Linked DNA regions of Homo sapiens: all the other regions are linked to region 3. Evidence: promoter capture Hi-C in 16 types of primary human blood cells and fetal thymus (Javierre and others, 2016). All regions are on one chromosome and are shown on one strand. The core of a region is centred on a gene start or on the middle of the fragment in contact, and the rest is flanking DNA. Distances in the headings are between cores, read along the strand shown. Region 1 overlaps CCSER1 (coiled-coil serine rich protein 1). Region 2 overlaps CCSER1 (coiled-coil serine rich protein 1). Region 3 holds the start of GRID2 (glutamate ionotropic receptor delta type subunit 2).

Evidence for each region. The method cuts DNA at HindIII sites, captures the fragments that hold promoters and counts their contacts. A CHiCAGO score of 5 or more calls a contact.
Region 1: a fragment that was not itself captured here is called in contact with the fragment with the promoter of GRID2 in region 3 in 1 of 17 cell types (naive CD4 T cells); the score reaches 6.4 in naive CD4 T cells.
Region 2: a fragment that was not itself captured here is called in contact with the fragment with the promoter of GRID2 in region 3 in 1 of 17 cell types (naive CD4 T cells); the score reaches 17.2 in naive CD4 T cells.

The regions. Positions count from the first base shown.
Region 1 is chr4:91,471,520-91,475,635 of GRCh38, forward strand. All of the region lies in intron 10 of CCSER1 (coiled-coil serine rich protein 1), which reads left to right. Among named protein-coding and RNA genes, the nearest start is that of LNCPRESS2, 800 kb to the right of the region's middle. The HindIII fragment of the contact is 1,001 bases long and covers 752-1,752 here.
Region 2 is chr4:91,450,963-91,454,841 of GRCh38, forward strand. The region is part of intron 10 of CCSER1 (coiled-coil serine rich protein 1); the gene reads left to right. Among named protein-coding and RNA genes, the nearest start is that of LNCPRESS2, 820 kb to the right of the region's middle. The HindIII fragment of the contact is 9,472 bases long and covers 1-3,879 here.
Region 3 is chr4:92,302,258-92,305,985 of GRCh38, forward strand. It overlaps GRID2 (glutamate ionotropic receptor delta type subunit 2), which reads left to right and starts at 1,709. Exons shown (of 16, transcript NM_001510.4): 1 at 1,709-2,487. The coding sequence starts at 2,400. RefSeq lists a silencer at 3,241-3,535. The HindIII fragment of the contact is 7,809 bases long and covers 1,329-3,728 here.

The sequences.
Region 1 (4,116 bases), core at 2-2,501, 830 kb before region 3:
AAAGCCGTGACGACGCACTCCCCTGAGACACGGTCTGCTTGTTTTGCTGCATGTAGTAAACAGCTCTCTCACTAGATCTGACAGCACTTGGTGGTGATATTCTTTTCCCTTCAGACTGACTGAGGAGGATTTCAGAGGTACCTACAGCATTAAGCCTTTGCCTGTAGGATGTTATAATTTTTTGTGTGTGTTGCATAAGGATAAATTTTTGCCATGTTGCTGTAAAAACATCTAAAGAAGGAGATCAAGACCATCCTGGCTAATACAGTGAAACCTTGTCTCTACTAAAAATACAAAAAAAGTAGCCGGGCATAGTGGCGGGCGCCTGTAGTCCTAGCTACTCATGAGACTGAGGCAGGAGAATGGCGTGAACCCGGGAGGCAGAGCTTGCAGTGAGCTGAGATCGTGCCACTGCACTCCAGTCTGGGCGACAGAGCGACACTCCATCTCAAAAAAAAAAAAAAAAAGAAAAAAAAGAAAAAAACTAAAGATTTTATTTAACTAAGTTATTAGTAAAAAAAATCATTAGGTCTCATTTTAGAATTCACTTGGCACACATGAAAAGAGGTGACCTGTTTTTCATTGTTTTTTTAAATGACTTAGAGCTTTTATTTACCTAGTGAATTTCCGATTCACTTGTACTTTATCAATTTGTGACTTTGCCAACTGGTGAGCTTTCATTTTAGGGCTTCGCTGAAGTTTTCTTGAGACAGGCTGTTATGATAGCATCTCTAAGTGCTGCAATATGACAAGCTTCCAAGACAGTTGTAAAACAATTAAAATTGTCACTAAAATGTCTTGGCTGGAATTCATATTAACATGAATAAAAGGAACTCAAGAGTCTCAAATGTTCTTACTTGAGTCTGTAGTGTTACTTGGTAAAGATTTTACGTTTTTTTCCCATCGTATCAATCAATAGTAAACCCCAATCCTTTCTTTTTGGACTGAGAAGTATGCAAGCATTTTCATACCACATGATATTATCTTTCCAAAAGCTACTTGTAGATGTAAAATAAAATCTGAATTGTTTTATTTTGCTCATAGTTAGTAAATGACACATTCTGTGTCTGGGTGAAAATCTTTCTCTATAATAACCACTGATATCTTGAGATTGTAATATTTGTTACTAGTACCAAGACAGTTTCATAGGCACAATCTCTTCGACTGGCTCTTTTGCAGCTCTTTGGGACCCTTGAATAATATAGAGACAGAATCTTAGGAGATGTTAGCAGTATCACAGGTCATACCTTATGACAAGCCTTAACAATAGTGTGTCAGGAGACTCTCATAAAAAATCATTAGATGGATACTTTAGCTGCAAATTATTTCCTCTGGACACTGTTCTGTCCTCTTTATCCATCATCATAACAGTTTATATCACATAATGGTCAGCAAGAACTGTCAAAGGAGCAGATAGGTAGATTACTGATGAATGCCTTTCCTGATATTCTCGTTTTTCCTATGACAGTCTGTGATCTGTGTTATCCCTGGTTAAGTTGTGGTTACTACCAACTCCAAATTCCAAATGATATTTCATATTCTGTGTGTTCCGCCAATGCCCAGTATTACATGGTATTAGGGGGAACATAATCCTTTGCTCAGCCAACTCCAGACAAAGTCTGCAGAGCTTCTCCTTGAGATGAGCAAACTTGGAATGTAAGGAAAGTTACTGTTCATCATAAACATTTTTAACTAGTGGAAAAAGATAACATAAAAGTCCATATGCTTTCAGAAAGTAATTTTCATTGTGGAAGCTTCTGAGTAGGGCATACAAAGGAACATAAAACCTGGTGATGCCATGAAGCAGCTCTTTGCACAGTTGACATCATTTCTCATAAAGTATTCCCTTTTAAGTCATCCACAGTAGAAATCACAAAAGAACAGAGATCAAGTACTGGTCTCGTTAGTCAGAGATTGTGGGTTCGTACCTCATTTGGTCTGGGATTTCTTAGTCACAGGGGTGTTTTAGAAGGACCATGTTTTAGAAGGACCCTGGAAGAACAGGGTTTTTGGATTCAACAGACTTAGATTAAAATCACAACCCTAGCTAGCTCTTTTATCTCAGACAATTTAGTTAATATTTTGATTTCAGTTTTCTTATTTATAAAATTAAGATGATGATATATACTTCTTAGGTTTGTTGTGAGGAAAAATTAAAAGAGTGTTGAAGAGCCTAGCCCACACCTGGCATACTGTCAGCACTCAGAAAATCATGGCTATTATTTTTACTATTAGCATGAGACTCAGAAACTATGGGCCTGTTATCTCATTTGCCTGGTTTTATTTCATATGTGGATCTTATGCTGAGATAGCTGACTAGGCATCCAGGCTTGGCCACATCTTCTAAGTATATTTTAATCAACTCTGTAGTGTCTGTTTCTTTGTTAACCTCAAAGAGACTATTCTGAAAAACAAGTATTATTCCCTCAAATTAACTTCCCGAATCATTTTTCGAGAATATAATTCATATATTAATGTTAAAAGTAGTGTTGTGTATTCTTTAAGTTTCTTCGATGTTCTAGATTTTCAGAGTCATGAGTAACAAATGCTCTATTGCTGTATTTTGCATGTTCTATCTAATTTCCTTGACTAGCCTCATCAAAATTTTGGTGATTTTTACACAGTAAAACTGGGATCAGAAGTTAAACACTGGGTGGGATTAAGATTCAATTCACAGTAAGAAAAACAAAACCTTTGTATGTAACATAAGTGTTTTCATTATTCCCTATATAACACCACAAAATGGATAAAAATCTTTGTATAACAGTTTAAAATAATTTAAACATCCAGACTAGGAAATAAAAATGAATTAATAATGGATAATAAATTTTTATTTCTTATATTGTGTTACAATTATATAATTACATATATAATCACACATTTAATAAATATGTATAATATCTTATTCTGATATGGATATAGAATTTTACAGTTGATAAATCTTTTTAATTCAAATCATTCTATTCTATTCTTAAAACAAAATTCTTTGGGATAATGATTACATCAATTTTTTAAATGGAAGACTAATGCCAATGAGGAATACAAGTCGCAAACCAAGATTTGATAGTAGTTCTCATTTACATTTTACCACATCAGGCTGCCTCATGATGGGATATGTTGCAATCTATGAACCCACTCTCCATTTTGGGGAGTTTCTTCACAGCATCCTTTTCTTCTCTCAGTCTTCTTGTGGCTAAATTTAGGCACACATGTATACATACATGCACACACACACACACATGTGTGTGTATATATATATATATTTGTGTATATATATATATATATATATATATACACACACACACACACACACACACACATTGCCTTCCAAATTTGAGGGATAAAAAGTAGAATGTAATAACATGACTCAGTGTAAAACTGCACCTTCAGTTTTATCCTTGTGTATTTATCATTGCATGTTTATTTATTTATAAATTTTGTATAACATGTAGCTAATTTTGAGCATTGGGTAATAAAGGTGGGTTAGGGTCACTTTTTTTGGTGGAAGTTGATGTTGGAAGGAAGGTGAGACAGTCTCATATAAGAAACTATGAATCATAGAGTCTCTACTGTTACACATTGCTGCTGATGAGAATTTTGTTGTCCAGGACAATTGTCATTCCTTTGTAAGTGACTATGTTTTAAAGGATGTTGTGTGTGTGTGTTTGTGTGTGTGTTTAATGTGGATTAATTTTACTTTTATATTCCTGCATATGGCTAGGCCTTCTCCTTCAGACCCTGAACATCACTATCTTTTGTAAAATAGATACAGTAAAATAGATATAGGGATAGTAAATAAGAAATGCTCTTACTTCACTTGAAAATTTTAATGTGATTTCAGAGCAGATATGAGGTTGATATGGTACGAAGGCGCACATTTAATATTGGAGTCAACTAAGGTCCTATTCATTTTATTACCAATATCCCAAACTTGTTATATAAACTCTTACCTTATATTCTAAAAGGGGGGTAATAATACCTTCTATTGTAATTTTAAAACACAGAGTTTTGAGATGTGTTAAGAATCACAGTGCCTTGCACTTAATTTAGTAAAAGTTGACCCCCTGCCACCTTTTCTTTCTCTTCTGATTAATAGAGGAGTCTACTACCTCAAAC
Region 2 (3,879 bases), core at 859-3,358, 850 kb before region 3:
AGAAATACAATAGACTGAGTGACCTATGAACAACAGAATTTGTTTCTCACATTTCTGGAGGCTGGGAAGCCAAAATCAAAGCACTGGCAGATTCAGTGTCCGGTGAATGTGAGTTTTCTAGTTCAAAGATGGTACCTTCTAGCTGTATCCTCACATAGAAGAAAAGGGGAACCCCAGCTTGTTTGGGCTTACTTTATAAAATCAAAAATCCCATTCATGAGGCCTTATGCTCATGACCTAATTAATCAGCTTCCAAAACATCCCACCTCCTGATACCATTACCTTGGGGGTTATAATTTCAACATATGAAAATTTAAGGGCTTCAAACATTAAGACTGTGGCATGGGACCAAATTAGTCCTAGAAGTAAAGGCTGCTATGGGCCTAATGAATTTTAAAAGCTCATTTTAAAAGCATCATACTATTTCCAACTAGCTTAGTTGCAAACTAAAGTAAATTTGAAAAATATTTAAAGGATTACTCTCTTAAAGAAAAAAGTCCAGCACCCAGACACACTTCAATAAAAAATTGTTGAACATTCAAAGAAGTAGAAGACCAGGAATAATAATAAGGAGAATAACCAATCAATAGAAACATCCAGAAATGACAAATAATAGAATAAGCAAACAAGAGCATTAAAAGAGCCACTGTATTCTCCAAATAACCAAAAAGAAGGAGGAAATCATGAGCATGTTGAAAAATTCTGCATGTAACATACAATATGCACCCAAATTTAATTTCTAAAGCTGAAAAATACAATGTTTGAGATAAAAAAATACTTGGGTGGAATTAATAGCAGATTAGACACTGTAGAATAAAATATTATAGAATTTAAAAATAAAACTTTAGTAGTAAGTAATTTAAGTAAAAATGCAAAGTCCCAGTTTCATATTAAGTATTAGTAATAAGCATTACCATTATCGAGAAGTAAACATTTCTGATTAGCCTGGGTTGAGCTGGTCCAATGTGATCCAAAAAGGTACTCTGGACTGGGCCAACAATATCTTAGTTGTGTTCCTGAAGACTTATCTCTATTTCATTTTTAAGGGTTTGCATCAGAACATGCTCTATATACACTATGATGTCTGGATAGTAAGTATTTACATCTCATTATGAAGTGTAGGCTTAGATGTTTTCAACAAATCCTGGAAAGTAACTTCTATGGCAGGAGTCTCAGAAATGATAATCCATAGTCATAGGGCAAAATTGACACACAGACATCCTCTCTTTTGCCAGTACAATTAAAGTTAAATTTAAATGTCTTCAAGTAGAGCATATCATCATCTTGTCACAGATCCCATGAACCTAGCCTGTGAAATAATTTGAACTTGTAACTCAAGCCTTTTGAAAACATTTTACAAAATTTTCTGAACTCCATGGACTCCACGTGACTGTAAGAGTCAGAGGCAATGGCAGGTAAGCATTGCCTTTTATGTGGTTTTGTCTTAATAAGGCTAATTTGTATTGGGTACACTACTTGTCATTTGTAGAGTACCAGAAATACTAAAAAACACTCATATTGGTGTTGACTGGCAAAGCACATATGTCAAGCAAATCTAAATGTATGTCTTTGTCACTCCTTTGAGAACATTTCCAGAAATGATACAGCCAAAGTGATAACAGAAAAGGGTAAATAACTGCACATTGTCTTCCAAATGTGCTGAGATACTATAGAAGCTAAAGATGGAAAATGAAATTCATACATCTTAAAACAACTGAATGAATTCCTTAATTTCTTAGTCACAGCAAGTTCAATGTTTGACCTGTAAAGCTAATAAAGACTGGAGACCTCACTTTGTTCTTGACAAGCACTGTTGAGCTCTTTGGTTGCAGTTGAAGCTGAAGAGCATTCCTAATAAGATTTTTTTCTAGCTCATTTTCCTGCAAATGAAATCTCTGCCTTACATTGTCCTTAGTTATGGAAAATAAGATCACTAAACCTTGGTAACTGTTGCCGAATGGCAGTAAAGATTTCATTGTTCAAATAATCCTCAAGACTTCGCATATCAAGTATACTCTATATTTTGAGAAATATTTGTATTACTCTCTTTTAAATGAAGTTACCTCATTTTATTACCTGTCACTTCACTGGGTTTCAAATTGTCTAATTTATTTAACTAGCAAAGTAAGGGATTTGAGCCCACTATAGGTTATGATTTATACATTATCATTTGGTCATTTAGAGTTTTGTTTGGTAGTAGTTCATGGTGATTCTGTAAATTTTGTAAATAACTATCCTTATACTTTCTAGCATTTGGAGTTTTATGTCTTTTCTTGGTGAAATTAGTGTTCTGCAAATTAGGAAAGGCAGAAACAAGTCAATCAAACTTATAACACTGTCTGCTTGAGAAAGTCACCATGTTCATTTTATAGGTGATTTGTTTTGCCCCATTGTATTTTGAATTCTCCCGTCAGCCAGGTCATTTGTATCTCAGGCCACAGAGGGTCTCTCAAGACTGCTTCCTGTGAAATTGAGTGGCCCCTTTTTATTTCTCTGTTACAAATGTTTACTTTTTCCAGAGCACTTTTCTCCTAAAGAAAATTTTACATCCATTTAAATGTCTTGCCACCTCTTCCTTGCCAGGCATACTGACTTTTAAACCTAAGCCTTTGGAGCATGTAAAATCAATGATGTGTACTGAGTTTTCTATCTATTCCCGATAAATTGCAGTCACTACTTCACCTTTGCCTACCTGCTCAGCAATATCCTCCGAAGAACCCAAGCATATCTGGCAGGTGTTCTATATCTTAGCTGAATCTATAGCTGATTTTCTAGCATAGTGAGGTGAGTCTATACTAGGCTTGGAAGAAACAGAAGAAATTATATAAAGGAAAATATATGTGGCTTTATCATTATATCACATATTTTCATCTGGTGATAGGCCATTTATGAAAGGAATAACTCCTGGATACACAAGTGGATGTGTGAATGGAAGAAAATAATCAAATAATTAATGAGCACATTCTTTGTGTCTAGTATTGTAATGAGGTATGTTTACAGTGTCTCACAGATGTCAACAGGAATAAATATCACTAGAACAGCATTCTATATTAAGTGTTTCTTAACCTGACATCTATGAGCTCCAGAACTTTCATATACATGGTTTAACGTTCAGAGGTAATCAAGAACATGGAACTATTTTTAATAGTGTTTGCATTGGTTTTCTATGGCTGTTGTAAAACATTGTCACACACTTTCTGGCTTAAAACAATACACGTTTATTCTCTTACAGTTCTGGAAATCAGAAGTCTGAAATCAGTTTCATTGGGGAAAAATCAGTATGACTGCAGGGCTGGTCGCCCTACAAAGGCTCTGAGGAGAGAATCAGTTCCCTTGGCTTCTCCAGCTCCTAGATCTGCATTCTTTGCATTTTGTGCTCGTGACCCCTTCCCCCATCTTTAAAGCCAGCAGTATCTCATTTTTATTTAGTAGTCACATTGTTTTCTGCCTCTGCGGTCAAATTTCCCTCCACCTTCTACTTATAAGGACACACACAGATTACATTTAGGACCCACCTGGATAATCCAGGATAATCTCCCCATCTCTGGATCTTTAACTTAATCTAATCTTTTTGGCAAACTTCCTTTTGCCAAAAAGTTAACATTTACAGGTGTTAGGGATTAAGTTCTGGATATTTTGAGGGGACATTTTATTCAGCCTATTATAATGTCTGAAACAGCTTGTTAACTCAGGATCTTATTTAATTTTTTAAAAGGAAGCTATTAATTGTAAATTACTAAGTTGGCACTGTAACAGTTTATTCAAGAGTCTATCTAAGTATATTTATATATGTGTCAACTAACAACATCTAATTAAGGTGTTCTGTCTGGTGTTAATTTCCCAAAATCGACTCCCCGAGAAGCTGATGAAATCTTAGCC
Region 3 (3,728 bases), core at 459-2,958:
AATTGAGAGTAATTAATCAGTGAATGCTTCTTGGAAGCACTGGTTTGTTCCAGATTCAGAAGGAAGTGATGAAATTCAAGTCAACAAAGGGGTTCTCTGTAAAATGCTGTGTTGAATAAAATGTGAATGAGCTTTGGTTTTCACTCTCAAGGCATTTATGATCTAACTTAGTAGTAGTTCTGTCTAACTCTAATACAAAATAGGGTGTGTTACGACAGCATAGAAGATAGATGGATTTATTCCACATTAAAGGACTGGACACTACTTCATGGGCAAAAGGAATTTGAACTAGCCCTTGAGATGGTGAAGGAGAGTGGTTGGGAGGACAAATACGTGCTTTCCAAGCAGAAATATTAACATAAGTAAAAATATGGCAGCAAAACATTTTCTGGAATGTTCAGGAAAAAGTGTACAAGATGAATGAAAACAGCCAGAAGTGAGAATGTACAACTGTGTCTGGAAAAATAGTAACCCAATTCAGAAGGCTAGAGAGAAGGGCTCAAGTGAGGGAACGGGAGGAAAAGAGGTTTGCCAAACTTGGAGGTAAGGCTTTGAAAGGTTGTGTAATGAGCTTGACATCCACACATCCAACATTCCTAAAGAATTCCAATTATAACTGAGACAATATTATGACATTAATACCTGACCTCGACTAGTCACTCGATTGTGTTAACAAATCTTCAGTTTGCAATGAGGCCAGATTGACATAAGTCAATCATTATAAGAAAAGAAGTCACAATGATCAGGATTTTATCTTAAGGAATAAGCTTGCAGAAAATCCTTTCACTGGAGACTGAGAGGCTGTCATTCAGGACTTCCTCAGCTTTTTCCATGGAAGAGAGTACCCAACTTCCTCATTCGGAATTTATCTACATAGGTTATTAAGCTACTCAATGAAATATTTTGACCAAATGTTTATGAAAAATTTTTCTGTTTTATTTAATTATTCTGCTTTTTTATTTTAATTTCAAGATCTTTTCTATCCTGATAGAGAAGAATTTCTATCAATAGAAAGGATTTCAGGAACCTTTCTCTATCCTGATTGCCTAAAAAATACACTGGAGACAGAAAAAAAAAATCATTGTATAAAAGGTAATTAGCACGTTCTCTCCTTTTTATAACTTTATAATTGAAATCTCATTAAAAGCTTTCTAGGTCTGTATTTCCCTAAGTGACCAGGTGTCCCTAATTTGTTTTCAACCAATGTGACTAATTCCAGGCAAAGACTAGAAAAAGTCTGATACCTGTTAGAGAATAGCAAGGTTAAATAAGTGGGGTGGCTTTTTTAGGTTGCATTTAACCTCGTAAAATAAAGAAAGGAAAAAAAAAGCTTCAATGTCTTTTTACAGTCCTGCCTTTTTCTCAGTCCCGGTTGAAGATTCCATGGGAAATGAGAGCACTATTTTGTTTCTCCCTTGTATTGCAGATAGGGGGAGGAGGTGGTTATTAGAGAGAAGCTCTTCCTCTCTTGGTTTCCCCCTCTCTCCGCCTGACAGCACCGCTCTCTCGCAGGCTCGCTCCTTCTCCTAGGTGATCCATTTCTAGGCAACGTGGGGCTGGTGCTGAAGCTGCCAGGCTCGCTCCTTGCTTCCTGCATCCCGCCAGGCGAAACGCTCCAAAAGCATCCTGCAGCCTGCGGCGGCTTCCCTCCTCTGGCCCGGCCCCGCTGCTCGCGCCCGGCGCAACCCCCCCGCCACCGCGCCCCAGCAAACCGGCTCCCCGGGCCCGCCTCGCCAAGCTGCGTTCCGCGCCTCACGCAGAAAGGGAATTTTCTCTGCATTACTATCTGCATTACCTTGAAGTTCACTTTTTCTACCCCTCTTGGAGAGGGCTTTTTTCCCCCCTCCCTGGTGGAATCTGGCTGCTCCGTTTGGAATCTCCTAATCTTTCCTTTCCACTTAGATTCTGGCAGCGAAGACCAGTGATTCTCTGCGGGCTGTAGGGGCGGGGGCGGGGGTCTTTTTTGGTCCGAGAGGGTGCGGGGAAGGGGGCACATCCGGCGTGAGGGGGGTGTTGGAAGTTGCAGCGGAGCTGGGACCGGAGACCCGCGGCCCCCGCGCAGCGATGGGTCTGATCTGAGCCCCAGCCTCTCCCCCTGCCCAAGAGCAGTAGAGGCTGGATATATTTTTCAAAAGCCAAACTGCAAACAACTCTGGCGATGCCAAAATTCCCCTCCAAGTGACACGGCTTTGCGAAGGAGGTTTCCTCAGGCTGGGCTCTTTCTGTCATTCCCTTCTGCCTTTCTCGGCGACGATAAAAGGCTTTGCTCTGGCAATAGGAATTTAGAAAAAAAGAAAAAGCTGCGCTAAACTCCACCGTGACCTCAAACTCTTTGGACTGTTTGAAAAAAAAAAAATTGGAAGAAAATCCATCCTCCAAGAGAATCGGCATAGGAGGAGATGGAAGTTTTCCCCTTTCTCTTGGTTTTGTCCGTCTGGTGGTCTCGAACCTGGGACTCGGCGAATGCGGATTCGATCATTCACATCGGTAAGAAAGTGTTGGTGCAGCTCGTGGTTACTTTTACCGTTTCAGTTCTCAAATGTTTCCCCTTCGCTTTCCCCCTCTCCGGTCTCTGTGTGTCTTGTTGGAGGTGGCTTCAGTTCATTGCCCCTTCCCGCTACCCTTCCCTCACACTTGCTCAGTTTTCTGAAAGGATGTGGATGCTCGAACCTCGACTGACTTGTGCTGTTGTTTTGCAGTGATTCGTGGAATGTGGCTGGATGCGTGGGGGTCTCGAGTTGACCTGAGTGTGAGTGTGTGCTGGGAACTGCAGGGGGATTCTAAGTGTGTGGGGAAAGGGAGTTTAATTGACTCTTATCTTCCATATTTTTTTTCCCGGATGTACATTTGCTCCATTTAAAAATTTATCTTTGGGGGAGCAGAGAAGCTGTCACCTGTGAGATGAAAAGAACTGGGCTGGGGGGTAGGGGGAGCTCCCTTCGGATCGAACAGGTGGTTTTGCAACGTGAGCCGGCTGAGTTCGCCGCAGCTTAGTGCGATGGTGACGGGGGTGCCGGATGCGCCCCCAGCCACCCTCTCTTCTCACATCTTCTTGGCTTTATGATCCTTGCGTGTAGTCTTTGAGACGGTGGCAGGAGGGGCTGGCGGCAGTGTCGCCAAGGACTGATTGTCGCGTGCCTCGCCTCCTCGGACACGCTCCCGGGGCCTGGCGCGGCGGCGAAACTGACCCCGGGGCGCTTGGGAAACGCGGGGAAGCGAATGCGCGCAGGCTGCTCCCGAGGTCTGCTTAGCAGATATCCGCCTTGCCTCGCCTCGCCTCGCCTCGCAGTCAACTCCGAGTAGCCGCGCAAGGCAGACAGCGAAGGCGCCGGGACTACTGCGGGCCGCGACTCTGAGAAGGACTGCCGAGCGGGCTCCGAGATGCTGGTGGCCCCACCTATTGGCAACCAGACGGGCCGGGACTGGCCGCGGCGAGCAGGGGCGGGCGGGGGGCTGCGCGTCATTATCATGCACAGCGCTCGCAGCTTCAGGCTCCAACTCTACTCACTTGCTAATCCGTGAGAGCTGAGCGGGAGACAGGCTCTTGCAGCCTTTTCTGCGTTAATGCGACGATTTCTTTTTCGGAAATTCGCTTACCGAGCCAGCAAGGTTTCTTTGCTGGGCTGCAGAGAGGTCCCTTTGGGGGAATTTTTCTGGGCACAGGACTTTTATCTGTACGCATGGCTTGGTGTTCTGCAAATTGAGGCGACAGATGGGTCACAGCTTCT